Regions from separate parts of the Homo sapiens genome. Here regions 2, 3 and 4 are each linked to region 1. The links are contacts of gene promoters, found by promoter capture Hi-C in blood cells and fetal thymus (Javierre and others, 2016). All regions are on one chromosome and are shown on one strand. Each heading gives the region's core, a stretch centred on a gene start or on the middle of the fragment in contact. The rest is flanking DNA. Distances are from core to core; before and after follow the strand shown.

Region 1 (3,718 bases), core at 533-3,032:
CTGTGCCTCAAATACTTTAGTTTTCAACTCAGCTGCTATAAATAATCATCTCGATGGTAAACATCCAGAACAGCTGCAAAACCAAACTATTACCTTCTCTTTTATTTTAGTCCCAGGGCTAAAACGAAACAAAAAGAAGGCCAAATATTTATCTAAGTTTTATGACTCAGGTATATCCCTACTGAAGTATATAAAGCCCCTCCTTACCCACACCAAGGATATCCATTATTGGTTAGTACCAAAAGAAAACCAAGGTATGTATTATAGTGCTCCTCAATGCAATATCAAGAATGTTTGCCTTTAGTTACTCAAAATGAAAATTACTCAGCATTTTAGTATAGAGTAGCTTATATCTGTGGGCTATAATTTGAAACCTACATTCTAAAAAAGTAGGTTAGTAGCAGTGGCTGAGAACTGCCAGTTCATACCAGCCTGATGAAAATTTAAGCCTCTCAAAAAGATTTAACTACCACAGTGCCTTTGAGCATTCTCCCTCTCCGCCCTGTCTCCCAACTGTTTAAAGAGCGCCATATTCTTTTACTCATTTAAGGTGCAAAACACGAAAATTAACTTGCCCAACAACGTTCAGATATTCTTTGCAGATTCAAGCCTGTTTCAGGGAGCGTTCTCTGCTTCACCTGTGAGTTAAGCAAGACGGCCGCCATCTGGGTGTTTCTAAGGGAAAACCTTAAAGCAAAAGAACCTTGGCACTAAGATTTCGTATTGATAAAATAGCATGGCAAAAATTTGAAGCTGTCTCCGACGGGGGAACTCTAAAACATTCTACATAGAATGACGAAGCCAGGCCGTTCATTGCACAATGTGGGTGGGCCAGGCGCTGGCACCATGAGAACTACAGGAGGTGGAAGGGAGGACACTACTGAGCTTTCAGGGCGCACGCCCATTCCCCAAGATAGAGGGGTGGGAGCCACGTGCCTAAAAGATTAGGGACTGGTTCCCTTTCTCAAGACGCCGAAGGGGAGACAATGAGGGGAAGGTTGGGTGCTGAGACCCTGCTCTAGGTGACTGGAGTAACGATGTCAATTCCGCCACACTACTGTGCCAGATGTGGCTGGGGAAAGGTGTCTTTAAACACTTCCCCTAAGATATCTAGATGGAGCAGGGTCTCAGTCTATACACAAAGAAGGCGCCACTGCCGCACTGCGCTCTGGTACTGGTAGTCAGATTCCCAAGCAGGTAACGGCCAGGAAACTACAGGGTCCAGAGTCAAAGTAGGCCCCTCTTCTCGGTCTCAGGCTCTTCCAACCTCACACAAAGGACCGCGCCACCACCCCCTCGCCCCGCCCGCCGGGACATGTAGTTCCCGTTTCCCCAGACAAGCCGCAGATGGGGAAGCAGCCAGACTACAGATCCCAGCAGCCTCCGCGCCCGAGCCCCGCACCCTCTGCCTCCATCTTGGCTGCTGTCGGAGCCTCCATTTTCGCTCCCTCCCCCCACTTTAGTCACCACCACCACTACCACCACGCGCAGCCGGCTGGCCTCAACTCCTCGTTTCAGCTCTGCGACCTGACATGAGGCCCAGGCAGTTGAACGGGAGACGTATGAAAAAGCCCAGGGCAGGGAATCGGGGTGCATTCTTCCCCACCTAGAGCTCTACGAGTGCCCACCTTGACTCAGAAGGCTTCTCGTTAGCCTTGGTCTTATTCTCAGCCCTTCCCCTGGGTTTCTGCTACCCCCAGTTGGACCCTGAGGTCGTACTCACCCCAACAGCTCAGCGCCCCCTCTCCAGCGCCGCCATAAGCAGCACGGCCCGGTACGTAGGAATAAATCTCGCTTCTCTCGCGAGAGTTGCGGGCTCCGGGCGCGTGCACGAGAAGGGGCGGAGTGAAGCGTACTCTCAACACGCTTGCGCAGCAGGGCTAAGTGACGCCAAGCAGTTTGCTGCACTTAACCACAACCAACATGGTGGCTGCATTACATTACATTCCTTCTTGGGTGTGCTGCGGGAAGCAATCTCGGTGTTTACTGACTCCTCCTGGACACTAGGGGTGGCGGGTGGCTTTAGGCGTCTCTAGTCTTCGAGCGTTTGAATACGTTTTAGCCCACAATAATGGGGTAAACCTTGAAGGCCAACAATTCTGATGGCATATTCAGGAGTCATAAAAAATGATTTATCTTTTCCCAGCAAAAATCCGGAAGGACCTCACACTCGTTTCTTCTTATAGTGCAAGCATTCTTTCTTACGTCTACTGTTTTAGAGGAATTTCATTAGTATAGAGTCAGCTTTGTAGCAAGGTAATTTAGAAATCTAAATGAGACCTTTGTTTTCCACGAAAAACATTGCAACAGATGCACAAGAGTGAGCAAGGCTGCATAATCACTAAACAAAATGAAACAAATTCAGTCAACTGACCTTTCAAGTTACGAAAGATATTCCTGTTGTGTCAGGTAATCAAAGAGGGTGGATCAGTAATTAAAAGGTTGAAATAAGAGCAAAGAGATGATTCATCCAATGGGGGAAGAAGGAAGGAGAAAAATGGGTAATTATGACCACAGGAAGTTCAATGGATTATCCCCTGCCAGACAGTAGAGCATGCTCCTCTGGTGAGAGGAATGCTTTTCCCAGATTCAATGCTTCTGTTTTCACAGATTCACTGGCTCTCTCACTTGACAGTATTGGATAAATAATGAGCAGCCAGTCTTCTGAGAACTCTCCTACCCACTTTTTGCTTACAACACATTTATTTGACATGTTGTATGTGTAACCACTGGGAAGTATACAGTTGTAAAGAAAATCGGATATAGACTTGTCCTCAAGGAACTTTTAGTCTAGCATCATTGATGATCACAAAAACAAATCTAAACATACACATTGGAATAAGTGCAATGAAGGAAAGACAACCTTCAATTCAACCTCTTGAATTCTAAGAGGAGGCCGTGTCCCATTTCTGTTCAAAAATTTCCTCACCACCTTTGTTGCTGGTGTCCAGTCCCATGTATAACACCTCAAAACTGCCTTTTTGCTCTCTTTGATGCCTTCCCACGCTTTCCTAAGCACAAATATTTGCTTCATTTTCAATGCTTTCATAGCTCACTCTATTGTAATTATTAGTTTTTACTAGGTAGTAATACTCTAGCACAGAGCTTATGAAATTCATCTTTGCATCCCTGGTTGTTGACAGTGCCCGCTCTCAACAACTCTCAAAAGCTTGTTGAATAAATAGCACTGGACAACAGTATGATAAGTTGTTAGAAATTGGAATATATTTCTGGGAAACTACAGAATGTAAATTTTTTTTTTTTTCAGATGGAGTTCACTCGTGTTGCCTAGGCTGGAGTGCAATGGCATGATCTCAGCTCACTGCAACCTCCGCCTCCCGGGTTCAAGCAATTCTCCTGCCTCAGCCTCCTGAGTAGGTGGGATTACAGGCGTGCACCACCACACCCGGCTAATTTTTGTATTTTTGGTAGAGACAGGGTTTCACCATGTTGGCCAGGCTGGTCTCGAACTCCAGATGTCGTGATCCACCCGCCTCAGCCTCCCAAAGTGCTGGGATTACAGGCATGAGCCACCGCACCCGACCTAATTTTGTATTTTTAGTAGAGACAGAGTTTCTCCATGTTGGTCAGGCTGGTCTCCAACTCCTTACCTCAGGTGATCCGCCCACCTCGGCCTACCAAAGTGCTGGGATTGCAGGCATGAGCCACCACGCCTGGCCCAGAATGTAAATATTTCAAACCAGCTGTTTTGTTTAAT
Region 2 (3,718 bases), core at 754-3,253, 2.3 Mb after region 1:
GGACTTAACATTTTGATCTAGTATATTTTTAATTTATGGAAGAAATATTCCTCCTGTCTGTGATTTGGCTGTGCACACTTTTGTGAGGTTGGACTGGAGATACCGACTTGGGTACTTGCAGAGGAGGAGCTTCTTCCTTAACGGGATATTTAAGAGGCCCCGATTTTGCCTTGTTTCGAAAATTATTCAAGAAATAATTAATTACCATGCCCCTCTTTCTGCAAATCCTGTATTCATGGTATACTACCTCCAATACAGCATCTATTAAACATGTACAAATACATCATTTGCAAGAATAACAATCTTGGAATAATGAAAATGCTTCTACCTATTTGTTGTTCCTGTCTTATCTCTAAGTTCATCTAAGTTTCGGAAGGGTAGTTATGTATAAAGGAACTTCACTTTGGAAATTCCATTTTTCTCTAGTCCTAGAGAGTTACTGCTAACTCCATTCATTTTGACATTTAAATACTATTTTATATTGTTATTTAAGTGTTCAACATGTACTAGTTCAGTCTCCTCAAAATACTGAGTAAGTTCCTTGTGCTTAGAATAGTTGTTTCAAACTTTGTGTGTGTGAATGAATGAATTTTACATTTCTCAAGCACCTAGTCCACAACGGGCACAAAAAAGCTATTTAGTAAGTACTGTTTAATTAATAAATGATACCTCAGGTTTGTCTCCCTTCCTCCGGATCCCCATAACATGTACATTTATCACATCGCCCAGATTTCCTAGACATTACAGATTTTCTGTTCTACGGCCCCCATAAGAACAGTGCAGGTGCCACACCATATGTCTGGGACATATGGTCCTCAATAGCTGCAATATGAAACTATTTCTATTGCAATAAATCTAATATCTATTCCTCTCTGTTTACTAATAGTTTTGATTACAACTTCAAATTTTAAAAATCGAGGATGAAGTTAAATAGAAGGGAACTGTCCCCTTTCTTCTATTTAACCTCGTCTTCGATTTTTAAAATTACAAAAGCATAATAGTAAAAAAAAGTTTGACAATACAAAATGATAAAGTAAAATTCGCCTTCACCAAAAGTCATCTATTTCCCCTTCTGTGGTTTCCACGTTGCGGCTGGTAACTCGGGGCTTCCACGCTGGGCGAGCCTAGAGAACATCCAGTACACACAGGAAGCAGCAGCGCGGGCCAAATGGCGCTGAGACCTGCGCACCTGTCCACGGACCGCCCACTCGCCAACTCTGACCTTGGGTGAGTCTCTCAAACTTGAGTCTCGGAATCTTCCACAAAATGCTACCCATCTCACCAGGTCGAGTGAGGAGGGTCGTGTTATGTGTAAGCACTTTGTGAAATCTAAAGCACGAGGCAAACGTAAAGCATTGTAGGGGGTCCTAGAGAAGTCTTTGTGCCTGCCTATCAGAGCCGTTTCAGTTCCCCGCAGCAGCTTCCAAGGACCTCCCACCATGCCCGCCGCTTCGGCTCCTGCACTGCAAATCTCGCGGCTCGGCCTGCAGCGGCGGCTTCCCCTGGCCTCCCACCCCAGCGACTGAGCGCGGAGCCCAGCGCGCACGAGCGCCAGCCTGGCTCAGAGACACCCACGAAGCCAGGGCCTTTCAGCGCCTGCTAACTGGCGCTACCCCTAGGGCCGCCTCTCGGTTTTAAACGTAAACAAGAGTTGCCCTTCCGTCTTCCAAGACCTGCAAATCGAAGCTTCTTTTCCTCCAGAAGCCCCGCCACCTTCTAAGCTTCTCCCCAGCCTCAGCCACGCCCCAGCCTGCAAAAGCCGGGTCCTTTACGCCCCCTGGCTCCGTATTTGATTTCGGCGCGCGCCATACCTGAGGGCAGCTGTGATTGGTTGGAGGTGAGCGAAGTTCCTATATGATTGGCTGATAGCGGCTAGGACGGGTGAAGGCCAAGGGCGGAGAATTATGGGAGGGATTAAGACTGCAAGAGCTGAGTGATGGTTGGTTCCTGAACAAAGAGGGCGGAGTAAAAGGCGGAAGCAGAATTGGGGGCGGGGCTTTGTGGAACTTGGGGGACCCAGCGAAATGGAAGAAGTTAGGTGTCCAGAGCACGGTAAGGGGCTAGGGTCTCAGCGTCCCGGGGCCTGTTGATTTAGCGTGGCGTAATCGTTGTTCACTTTCTTCTCTCTTCAGGGACTTTCTGCTTTCTTAAGACCGGCGTCCGCGATGGCCCGAATAAAGGAAAGAGCTTCTACGTGTGCCGGGCAGACACGTGCAGCTTCGTGCGGGCCACCGAGTAGGTCTGGAGCTGGGCCCCACTCCCTGTGGCTGCCCGGGGCCTCCCGAGAGGAGCTTCCCGCTCCCCGCTGTCGGGCGTCACAGGGCCGAGGAGTGGTGGGGCCCTAGTTTGCGGTGTCAGGACCCTTTAAGCAATTGGTGATCCCAGGGCAGCGTGGCGTGTTCGGAAGACGCCCAGCTAATTCTGGCTGTGTGACCCGAGGCTGGTTACCCCCCTCTCTGGGCCGATGGTTCCCCTACCTGTAAAATTGAGGATCCGGTGTTTTCCAGCTCTGGGTTTCTATTCACTTGACAGGCCTTAACCACTCCCTTCTCCTGCCCAGACAGTCCCTCCCCCTTTAAAGGAGTAAGGACACACAGCAGACATAGTGGAAAATAATTTGTCCCTGTTTTGCACTAGTTTTAGGCCCGACGGTTTTTTTTAAATGTTTGAGCTTAAAACACTCTAGTGATTAGTTGTTAGCCTTCTTATTTTTAAGTAGGATTCTCTGCATCTAAATGGTGAAATTGATAATTCAAAGAAATTAGCGCTGGAAGAAACAACGGAGGGCCTGGCGCGGTGTGTGACGCCTGTAATCCCAGCACTTTGGGAGGCGAAGGCGAGCGAATCGCTTGAGCCCAGGGGTTCGAAACCAGCCTGGGCAACATGGTGAAATCCCGTCTCTACGAAAAATTAAAAAAAATTGTCTAGGCATGGTATCACACGCCTGTAGTCCCAGCTACTCGTGAGGCTGAGGTGGGAGGAGAGAGTCAGAAATGTTAAGCATCTTCTCTAAAGTGAGGAAAGTTAATAGTTTGTCAAGTGTTAATGTTTTCACAGTACCAAGTGTCTACATTTTCTATGTGAATTTTAAAACTATCATCACATCATTAAACATCTCCTGCTCTCTATTCAGCAAAACTTGGTAGAGAAAAGTTATTTTTCTCCGTGTCAGATGTAGAGTACATAATGGATATCAGTATTAGAAAAGTGCCCTTTCAACATGTATACTAACTTCCCATGTTTCTGTTTCATGAGTTAGATGATTTACACTGAGCCTCTCAGATATAGTACCCAGGTCAAGTTTTGTGAGATAGAAGCATTTTTACCTTTGCAGGAATTCAACATTAATGGTGGCATAAGATTTGGTTTTACATTAAGAGAAACACTCTTATTTAGGATCCCATCTACACAAATGCTTTGCTATACAAACTAGCACAGTGGTATTTGAAGACAATTATTTGATAAACTTGATTTATTTGGACTATATCTGATAACCAATATACAGGCCAAAAAAAGTGCCACAGGTTTAGGAGAGTACTTTAAACCTTCACTCAAACCTGTTTACTCTCAAATGTTATATATATTTAAATTTTTTCATAATAAGTTGGAAGGGAGTGATTAAAAACTTACACAAAACAAGAAGCATATAGGGCGTATTGTTAGAGGTAGGCGTGTGAATAACACTAAGTGACAGCTCTCAGCTTGTTAGAGGGAAAGG
Region 3 (3,718 bases), core at 674-3,173, 2.1 Mb before region 1:
CAAGGTTTTAGACATCATATATATAAGTTATCCCCCTCTTATAAATGAGGAAATTATAGCTTAGACAGTTTATGTAGCTTGCCCAAAATTATCAGCTAGTAAGTGGCAGAGTTAAGATTCAAAATTTTATCTTCTGGTTCCCAAACCAGAGCTTTTTCCACTATATCAGCTGCTTAATATTGATAGTTTCTTTAAAACAAACAAACAAAAACCATATTAAATAGAGACAGGGTCTTGTTGTTGCCCAGGCTGGTCTCAAACTTCTGGCATTAAGGGATTCTCCCACTCCATCCTCCCAAAGTGTTGGGATTACAGGTGTAAGCCACCGTGCCTGGCTTAAAGACAGTTTATCGTCTTTACTTAGACTTTTGTATGCTATGGACTAAACATGCTAAAATATGCTTATGTTAAATTATGAGGCTTATATTAACATGTAGTTTTAATCCTGAATTCCTCAATAGCTTCTATTTTTTTTAGCCAAGAGAAAAATCTCGTTCTTGTTTGGCATTTCACTTTAACAAAATGGTCTGTATTTAGTCCCTATTTAAAAAAATAGATCCAATACAAATGCTATTTCTACTACAGCTGGAGAGCACCACCTAGAGATAAAAAAAAGAACAGGCTGGGCATGGTGGTTCACGCCTGGAACCTTAGCACTTTGGGAGGCCGAGGAGAATGGATCGTTTATGCCCAAGCGTCTGAGACTACCCTGAACAACACAGTGAGACTCTGTCTCTACAAAAAATAAATAAAAATTTAAAGGGAAGAGAAAAATTTATTGGCTATGCATGGCATAAAACTTCTTAAGATTTTTATCTGCAGCAGTATTGTTCCAAAGTGTACACTAGTAAACATGACATCCTAGGGATGTTAACGTGAATTATAAAAAATATTTTATTTTTTTTAAATTAAAAATATCTTCTTCAAGGAAAAGTTGAATTAAAGTTAAACAGTTTTGTTGTTTTTGTTTTTTGAAACAGAGTCTTGCTCTGTCACTCAGGTTAGAGTGCAGTGGCACCATCTTGGCTCACTGTAACCTCTCCCTCCAGGGTTCAAGTGATCCTCCCACCTTGGCCTCTCCAGTAGCTGGGACTATAGGTGCGCCACACACGCCTAATTTTTGTATTTTTTTGAAGAGACAGGGTTTTTCCATGTTTCCCAGGCTGGTCTCGAACTCTATCACCCCACCTCGGTCTCCCAAAGTGCTAGGATTACAGGTATGAACCACTGTATCAGGCCAAACAGGTTTCTTAATTGTGAGAATTCTCAGAATAATGGCCAAAATTCATTAAGTGTACATTCTGAACCAGCTATCATGTTATAAACTTACAACATTATCTGATTTACTCTTCATAATCCTATAAAGTTCATGCTATTAACTGCCAGTTAACAGATGAGGAAACTGGGGCTTGAAAAAACTGTAAGTTGAATTCATGACACATAAATTTTAGTCTTCCCAATGTTGCCAATATTAAAATGCTGTAGTCAGACATGGTGGCACATGCCTGTAATCCCAGCTACTAGGGAGGCTGAGACGGGAGGATGGCTTGAGCCCAGGAGTTAAGGCCACAGTGTGCTATAATGGTGCCTGTGAATATCGACTGTACTCTGGCCTGGGCAACGTAGTGAGACTCCATCTCAATTTTTTTTTAATGGGCAAATTTTATATAAAAACTGTATGTCCAGGTTCTACTTATTTATTCATTCATTTTTGAGAAAGGGTTTCTCTCTGTCGCCCAGGCTGGAGTGCAGTGGCAAGATCTTGGTTCACTGTAACCTCCACCTCCCAAGTTCAAGAGATTCTTATGCCTCAGCCTTCCGAGTAGCTGGGACTACAGGCACATACCACCATACCCAGTTATTTTTTGTATTTTAGTAGACGGAGTTTCATCATGTTGGCCAGGCTGTTCTTGAACTCCTGGCCTCAAGTGATCTGCCTGCTTCAGGCTCCCAAAGTGCTGGGATTATAGGTGTTAGCCACCACGTCCGGCCTGTCTGGGTTCTCTTTAAATCATTTGAAAAATTGAAAAACCTGGTAATACTAGTTCCAAGTCTATATGGCAACAATTAGCTTTAGCCTCTTTTAGAAGGGGCATGCACTGTCCAGGCTACCCAGTCCTCAAAGAAATAAGAATTTAATTATTAAACTCTATCCATTTCACTCATTTTTGTTACCAACTTGGGCTCTGCAGGCATTTAATTTCCAACACACCCCAAGCCCTCCCTGACTACAGTTTACAATAAGCCTTTAATATGTAAATAAATACTGTCAATCTCTTAAAAGTAGATTGGGAGATGCAGTGTTCCCCAAACTTGTTTGAATAGGTAACTCTTTTCAAATGCTGAATACATTTTGGAAATGCTAATCCATAGGTAATAATAATTTATAATTATTATAACCATATAAAGGATCTTTAGGCCAGGGCGGTGCCTCACGCCTGTAATCCCAGCACTTTGGGAGGACAAGGCAGGCGGATCACCTGAGGTCAGGAGTTGGAGACCAGCCTGACCAATATGGTGAAATGCCATCTCTACTAAAAATACAAAAATTATCCGGGCATGGTGGCCGGCACCTGTAATCCCAGCTACTCGGGAGGCTGAGACAGAAGAATTGCTGGAACCTGGAAGGCGGAAGTTGCAGTGAGCCGAGATCATGCCACTGCACTCCAGCCTGGGCGACAGAGCAAGACTCTGTCTCAAAAAAGAAAAAAAAAAAATATCTTTAGATAAACACCAAAACATGAAGGAAGGAAATGGAAACTACTTACAAATATTAGTCCTGATATCAATGAAGAGGTCCCTGTAAGTGCCACATAGAATTTGGGTGTCAATGAATTTAAAAATACAGTCACTGTCAAAAGAACAAGAATCAAAGTTTTAAAAAATGCAAATTTAAAGTACTTAGGTTACAAATATGCAAGTATCTTTATGAGTGGTGGGACTTAAGTAGTATTAATATCTAGTGTGAAATTCACTTGAAAAAGTTTTAATTTGTATATATATTATACATAATGGCTTATCACTATTTGCAACAAATCAAAATGAGGTAATTCAGCTTGCTTTGGAGAATAAAACTAAAGCACTTATAAGTCATAATTTAGATAGAACTTTTGCAAGTCTGTAAGAATAAAAAGATAAATATGCTTTTACAAAGGAGGTTCAAAACTACTCCATATTTATTTTGGTAGGATACAAAACCACTGTCTCAAATTAGAGGGAAGGAAACAGCATATGTATTTGGTATATCAGCTAGAGAGGCAAAATGGCTCAAAGAGAAAAGCAACAAACAGAAATCTCCCTGAGTTACTGAAATCCTGGAGCAGATTTTTCACTTCAAATAATTATCTCATAAGTACTGTGGGTTTTAGAAAGAAAATAAAAATCTGGCCAGGTAGGATGGCTCACTCCCATAATCTCAGAGTTTTGGGAGGCCAAGGCAGGAGGATCACTGGTAGCCAGAAGTTCAAGACCAGCCTGGGCAAATAAAATAGACCCAGTCTCTACGCAAAATTTAAAACTCAGCCAGTCGTGGTGGTGCACGCCTGCAGTCCCAGCTACTTGGGAGGCTGAGGCCAGAGGATCGCTTAAGCAGAAGAGTTCAAGGCTGCAGTGATCTTGCCACTACACTTCAGCCTGGGTGACAAAGGGAGACTCTGTCTGTCTTTCTCTCTCTCACACACACACACACACACACACACACACACACACACACGAAACG
Region 4 (3,718 bases), core at 545-3,044, 2.1 Mb before region 1:
GTCAAACTGGGCTGACTGAACGCCTCTACTCCCCACACCCCACCACCACCTCACACTGCCCTTTAGGAAGCGAATACTCCAGCCCCAGGCCTCTTCCCTTCAACATAGATCCTGAGTGGCCCTTCCCTTGCCTCCAGACACATTCACAAAACTGTTGGTTTTGTGGACATGAGTCAGAGAATTTACAGGAGTTCAAAGTACACAGCCACACTCTTCCCACCACAAAACGGACTCTCTCTGATTCCCCAGAAGACAAGCAAGAAGGCATTCACCCTGTCGGCAGATCGCCTCCAGAAATGGAAACCATCCTCCAAAAAGAGGGTTCCTTGGGAATTCTATCCCGGTGACTGACGCTGGGATTTCTTCCAACTCCTCCACCCACTCCATTAGTTCACCTTGCCCTGTTTTGTAAAGATGGGCTGGGGTAGCCCCAACCTGGGGTGGGCAGTGTTGATGGAGGGCAATCACTACTGGGGTGAAAGCCAGTCACTTAGGCATGAGTATGCCACTGCTGTCCCCCCAGCAGGGTAATTCAGACGGCACCAGAGTGGTGGGAGGCAGAGGACAGAAACCCGGGGTTGAGGCATGCGTTAAGGGACCTGGAGCCTCCAGCCCAATTAGAAGACTTTCCCTCCAGGCTATGATTGGGCCAGAACAGCAGGCAGCCCAGGCCAGGACACTAGGCCCAAGGCCAAGATGGCATGGACAACTCCCTGTGAGAGGCAGCCCCAGAGGGACTGTCCCACTGACCCCTTAAGAGGGGCAACTGAGCCCCACACAGGGCCTGGAATGGAGCCTGGAACTTCTGGGGCCTTCCCCAAGACAAGACAGTGTGGCTACATCAGACCTCTCTCCAATCGCTCTCTTGAATTCCCAGATGATCCAGAGCGGCCGGTTGACTTTGCCGGCCCACCCTACACCTAGGGAAGGAATCCGTTCTGGAGATACCAAGAGATACTGCATTCTCAACTTTAAAACCAGAGTGAGGGCGGGACTCGGCCTCGGGATCCCAGTCCCAAACCCCAGGATACTCTTTCTTGGTTCGAGTATGAAGAAGGAGGATTCTCAATCTCATTTTCTCTCTCTCTCTCTCTCTCTACACACACACACACACACACACACACACACACACCACACACACACACACACACACACACACACACACACACACACACACACACACACACACACACACACACACACACAGAGTTGGATCCTTCCCCATCTCCCTTATCCTCAACACAAGCGGGCTCCAGGAACCGTCCAGGGCGGCGTCCAGACCCTGCCGAGCAGTGGCAGGCCCCAATGGTCACATCCCGCCCCTATTCCCGCCATACCTCCCTCCTGGCCTGGAGGAATTCCCACCCCATCCCACTCTAGGTCCCCTGCGGCCGCCCACCCTGGGGGCTGGGGCGTCTGAGTTGAAGTTCCCTCGCCCCTCGCCCGGCGGGGCAGGTTCCGGGAAGCTGGGAGGAGAAGGGAAGGGGCTCCGACTCGGACCTCAGGAGGCCAGAGCCCCTGCCGGCAGGTCCGGGCCCCCTCGCTGCAGCCCGGGGAGGGGCCGACGCGGTCCGACCACCGCCCAGCCCGGATGCCGACTCCGCTTGGAGGGAACGGGGTCCACGCCCAGGCCGAAGCCCCTCCTCGCACGGGCCCCGATCTCCGGGCCAGCGAGGAAGGGAAAGTGCTCTCCTGGGGACGAGTTCCCAAGACGCCCCACCGCCCGCAGCCCCGGCCCAGGGTACCTTCCGCTCCGCCGCCTCCAGCTGCGCGGCCGGTGCCGGAGGCTCAGACTGACCCCAGGGCCCCGCCCCGCCCTCCTCCAGCGCCGCGGCGGGGAGGGCGGGCCCGGCAGGGGGAGGGTCGGCCGGGGGCGGCCCTTGGCTCGGCCCGCCCCGGCCCCGCGCAGGGCCGCAGCCACCGGCCCCCTCCGCAGGCCGGGGACTGGGGGCCAGGGGCGTCCACCCCTCCAGGTCGGGGAGAGCCACGGGGAGATTCCTGGACTGCGGAGGAGCCGGGCGAGCGGGGGGAGCACGACCCGGGTGGACTCAGACTCTGCCCAGCCTTCAATCCCCTAGGGGAGGACCGGCGTCGGGAAAGTTAAGAGGTGCTCGGGGTGGGGTCAGGAAGGGCCGCTGCTGCCCTCCTGTGGCCAAGCGGCCACCCGCTCCTGCTGCACCTGGGACCTCGCGGGAAGCGGGACTGGGAAAGGGTATCCGCCGGGAGGTCCCAGGGCCCGGCGCGGGTGTGTTGGTTGGGGGGAGATGTCCACCCTCTTGTTCCTAGGATCGTACAGCCCAACGTCATCCCCCAAACTTGAAGACCTCTCAGAGCCGTTCAGACCCAGACCACCGTTCCTCCTCACAATTCGCTTTCTTCCCTGGGCCTGGAATTTCCAGGAGTCCAATTCCTACCTACTCCTCAAAGGGTGCGCCTAGAAATGCTTCTGGATCCCAGCTGTGAATTCTGTTCCCACTCCTAGGTCTGACTTGGCGCATAGGATATTTACCTACACGCGTATCTCCTTTCCCTGTAAGGGAGCTGAGGAGGTGGGAGTAGAATGAGGACGTCCACCAACATTTCATTGGCTTGTGCTTGGGACACTACACAGCTTAACCCTTTCAATATTCATCACAGATCTCTGGGGAAAATATACCCATCCCCTTTTGCCCATAGAGAAGCTGAGGTTCAGAGAAATCAAGTGGCTTACACAACTGTTTTTGACTTGTGACAGCAAGAATTCACACAGCCGGGCCTGTCTGGCTCCAAACTGGTGGTCTGGCCCTGCTACCTCACGGGCTCCTCCAGCCTGTCCCTTCCCCCGTTGTCTAGCAGAGTGAGTGGCACATAATAGGTTGTCAACAAATATTTGATGAATGAATGAATGTTAGGAGTCATACAGACTTTAAATATCTGAAGTGCAATCCAGACATTTGACAAATGTGAAAACAGGTCCGCAGCAGTTTGGCCCCAGGCCTCTTAACTGACTCAATGAACATTTCTCGAGGGTGAACTGAGAGCTATGTTCGGAAGATCCATTTCTGCCTTCAAACAACTTAGAGTCTAAATGAGGAATGCAATTTCAAGATAGCTAACATTTATTGAATCCATATTACATGGACCTGGGTCCACATACATTAACTACAAGAATCCCATGAGGTAGCTATCTCCATTTTACTGAGAAGCAAATTGAGGTTCAGAGAGGTTACAGAGCTAGTGCTGGGTCTGACACTAGAACCCAAACAGCTGAACTCTAGAGCCCCTGTTCTTAATTCCTACTCCCTACTGACTCCTAATGTAGACAGTTACAATACCGGAGGTCATTGCTGTAGTGTGGGCATGTGTGGGCTGTGCGATACCCAGTCCTGAACAACAGGTGAAGTTCTCAAGATAAGGTGATGTGTAGATTTTTTTAATTTTAATTTTTTTTTGAGACAAGGTCTCTGTTGCCTAAGTGTGCAGTGGCAAGATCTCAGCTCACTGCAGCCTCAACTTTCCAGGCTCCAATGATTTTCCCACTTCAGCTTCCCCAGCAGCTGAGACTACAGGCGTGTACCATCACACCTAATTTTTGTATTTTTTGTACAGATGAGGTCTTGCTATATTGCCCAGGCTGGTGAGGGGCCTTTTCTAATTATTTTGCTCATCTTTATTTTTGCTTCCCTTAACTTACTTTGGGTTTAATTTGCTGTTCTTTTTCTAGCCTCTTAAGGTGGAA

Evidence for each region. The method cuts DNA at HindIII sites, captures the fragments that hold promoters and counts their contacts. A CHiCAGO score of 5 or more calls a contact.
Region 2: a contact is called between the fragment with the promoter of TTF2 here and the fragment with the promoter of CSDE1 in region 1, in 2 of 17 cell types (neutrophils and fetal thymus). The highest score is 7.3, in neutrophils.
Region 3: a fragment that was not itself captured here is called in contact with the fragment with the promoter of CSDE1 in region 1 in 1 of 17 cell types (monocytes); the score reaches 6.7 in monocytes.
Region 4: the fragment with the promoter of RHOC here is called in contact with the fragment with the promoter of CSDE1 in region 1 in 1 of 17 cell types (non-activated CD4 T cells); the score reaches 5.3 in non-activated CD4 T cells.

The regions. Positions count from the first base shown.
Region 1 is chr1:114,756,202-114,759,919 of GRCh38, forward strand. It overlaps CSDE1 (cold shock domain containing E1), which reads right to left and starts at 1,783. Exons shown (of 20, transcript NM_001007553.3): 1 at 1,724-1,783. RefSeq lists enhancers at 1,180-1,499, 1,335-2,328, 1,700-1,989. The HindIII fragment of the contact is 3,696 bases long and covers 1-3,167 here.
Region 2 is chr1:117,058,323-117,062,040 of GRCh38, forward strand. It overlaps TTF2 (transcription termination factor 2), which reads left to right and starts at 2,004. Exons shown (of 23, transcript NM_003594.4): 1 at 2,004-2,052; 2 at 2,133-2,235. The coding sequence starts at 2,025. It overlaps CD101-AS1 (CD101 antisense RNA 1), which reads right to left and starts at 1,168. Exons shown (of 4, transcript NR_110786.1): 1 at 1,051-1,168. RefSeq lists a silencer at 1,075-1,124 and an enhancer at 1,545-1,704. The HindIII fragment of the contact is 4,450 bases long and covers 1,720-3,718 here.
Region 3 is chr1:112,614,045-112,617,762 of GRCh38, forward strand. It overlaps ST7L (suppression of tumorigenicity 7 like), which reads right to left. Exons shown (of 15, transcript NM_017744.5): 2 at 2,769-2,851. Among named protein-coding and RNA genes, the nearest start is that of ST7L, 3.2 kb to the right of the region's middle. The HindIII fragment of the contact is 5,337 bases long and covers 1-3,718 here.
Region 4 is chr1:112,705,333-112,709,050 of GRCh38, forward strand. RHOC (ras homolog family member C) reads right to left here and starts at 1,795. Exons shown (of 6, transcript NM_175744.5): 1 at 1,746-1,795. RefSeq lists an enhancer at 206-255 and a silencer at 1,515-2,234. The HindIII fragment of the contact is 12,151 bases long and covers 1-3,718 here.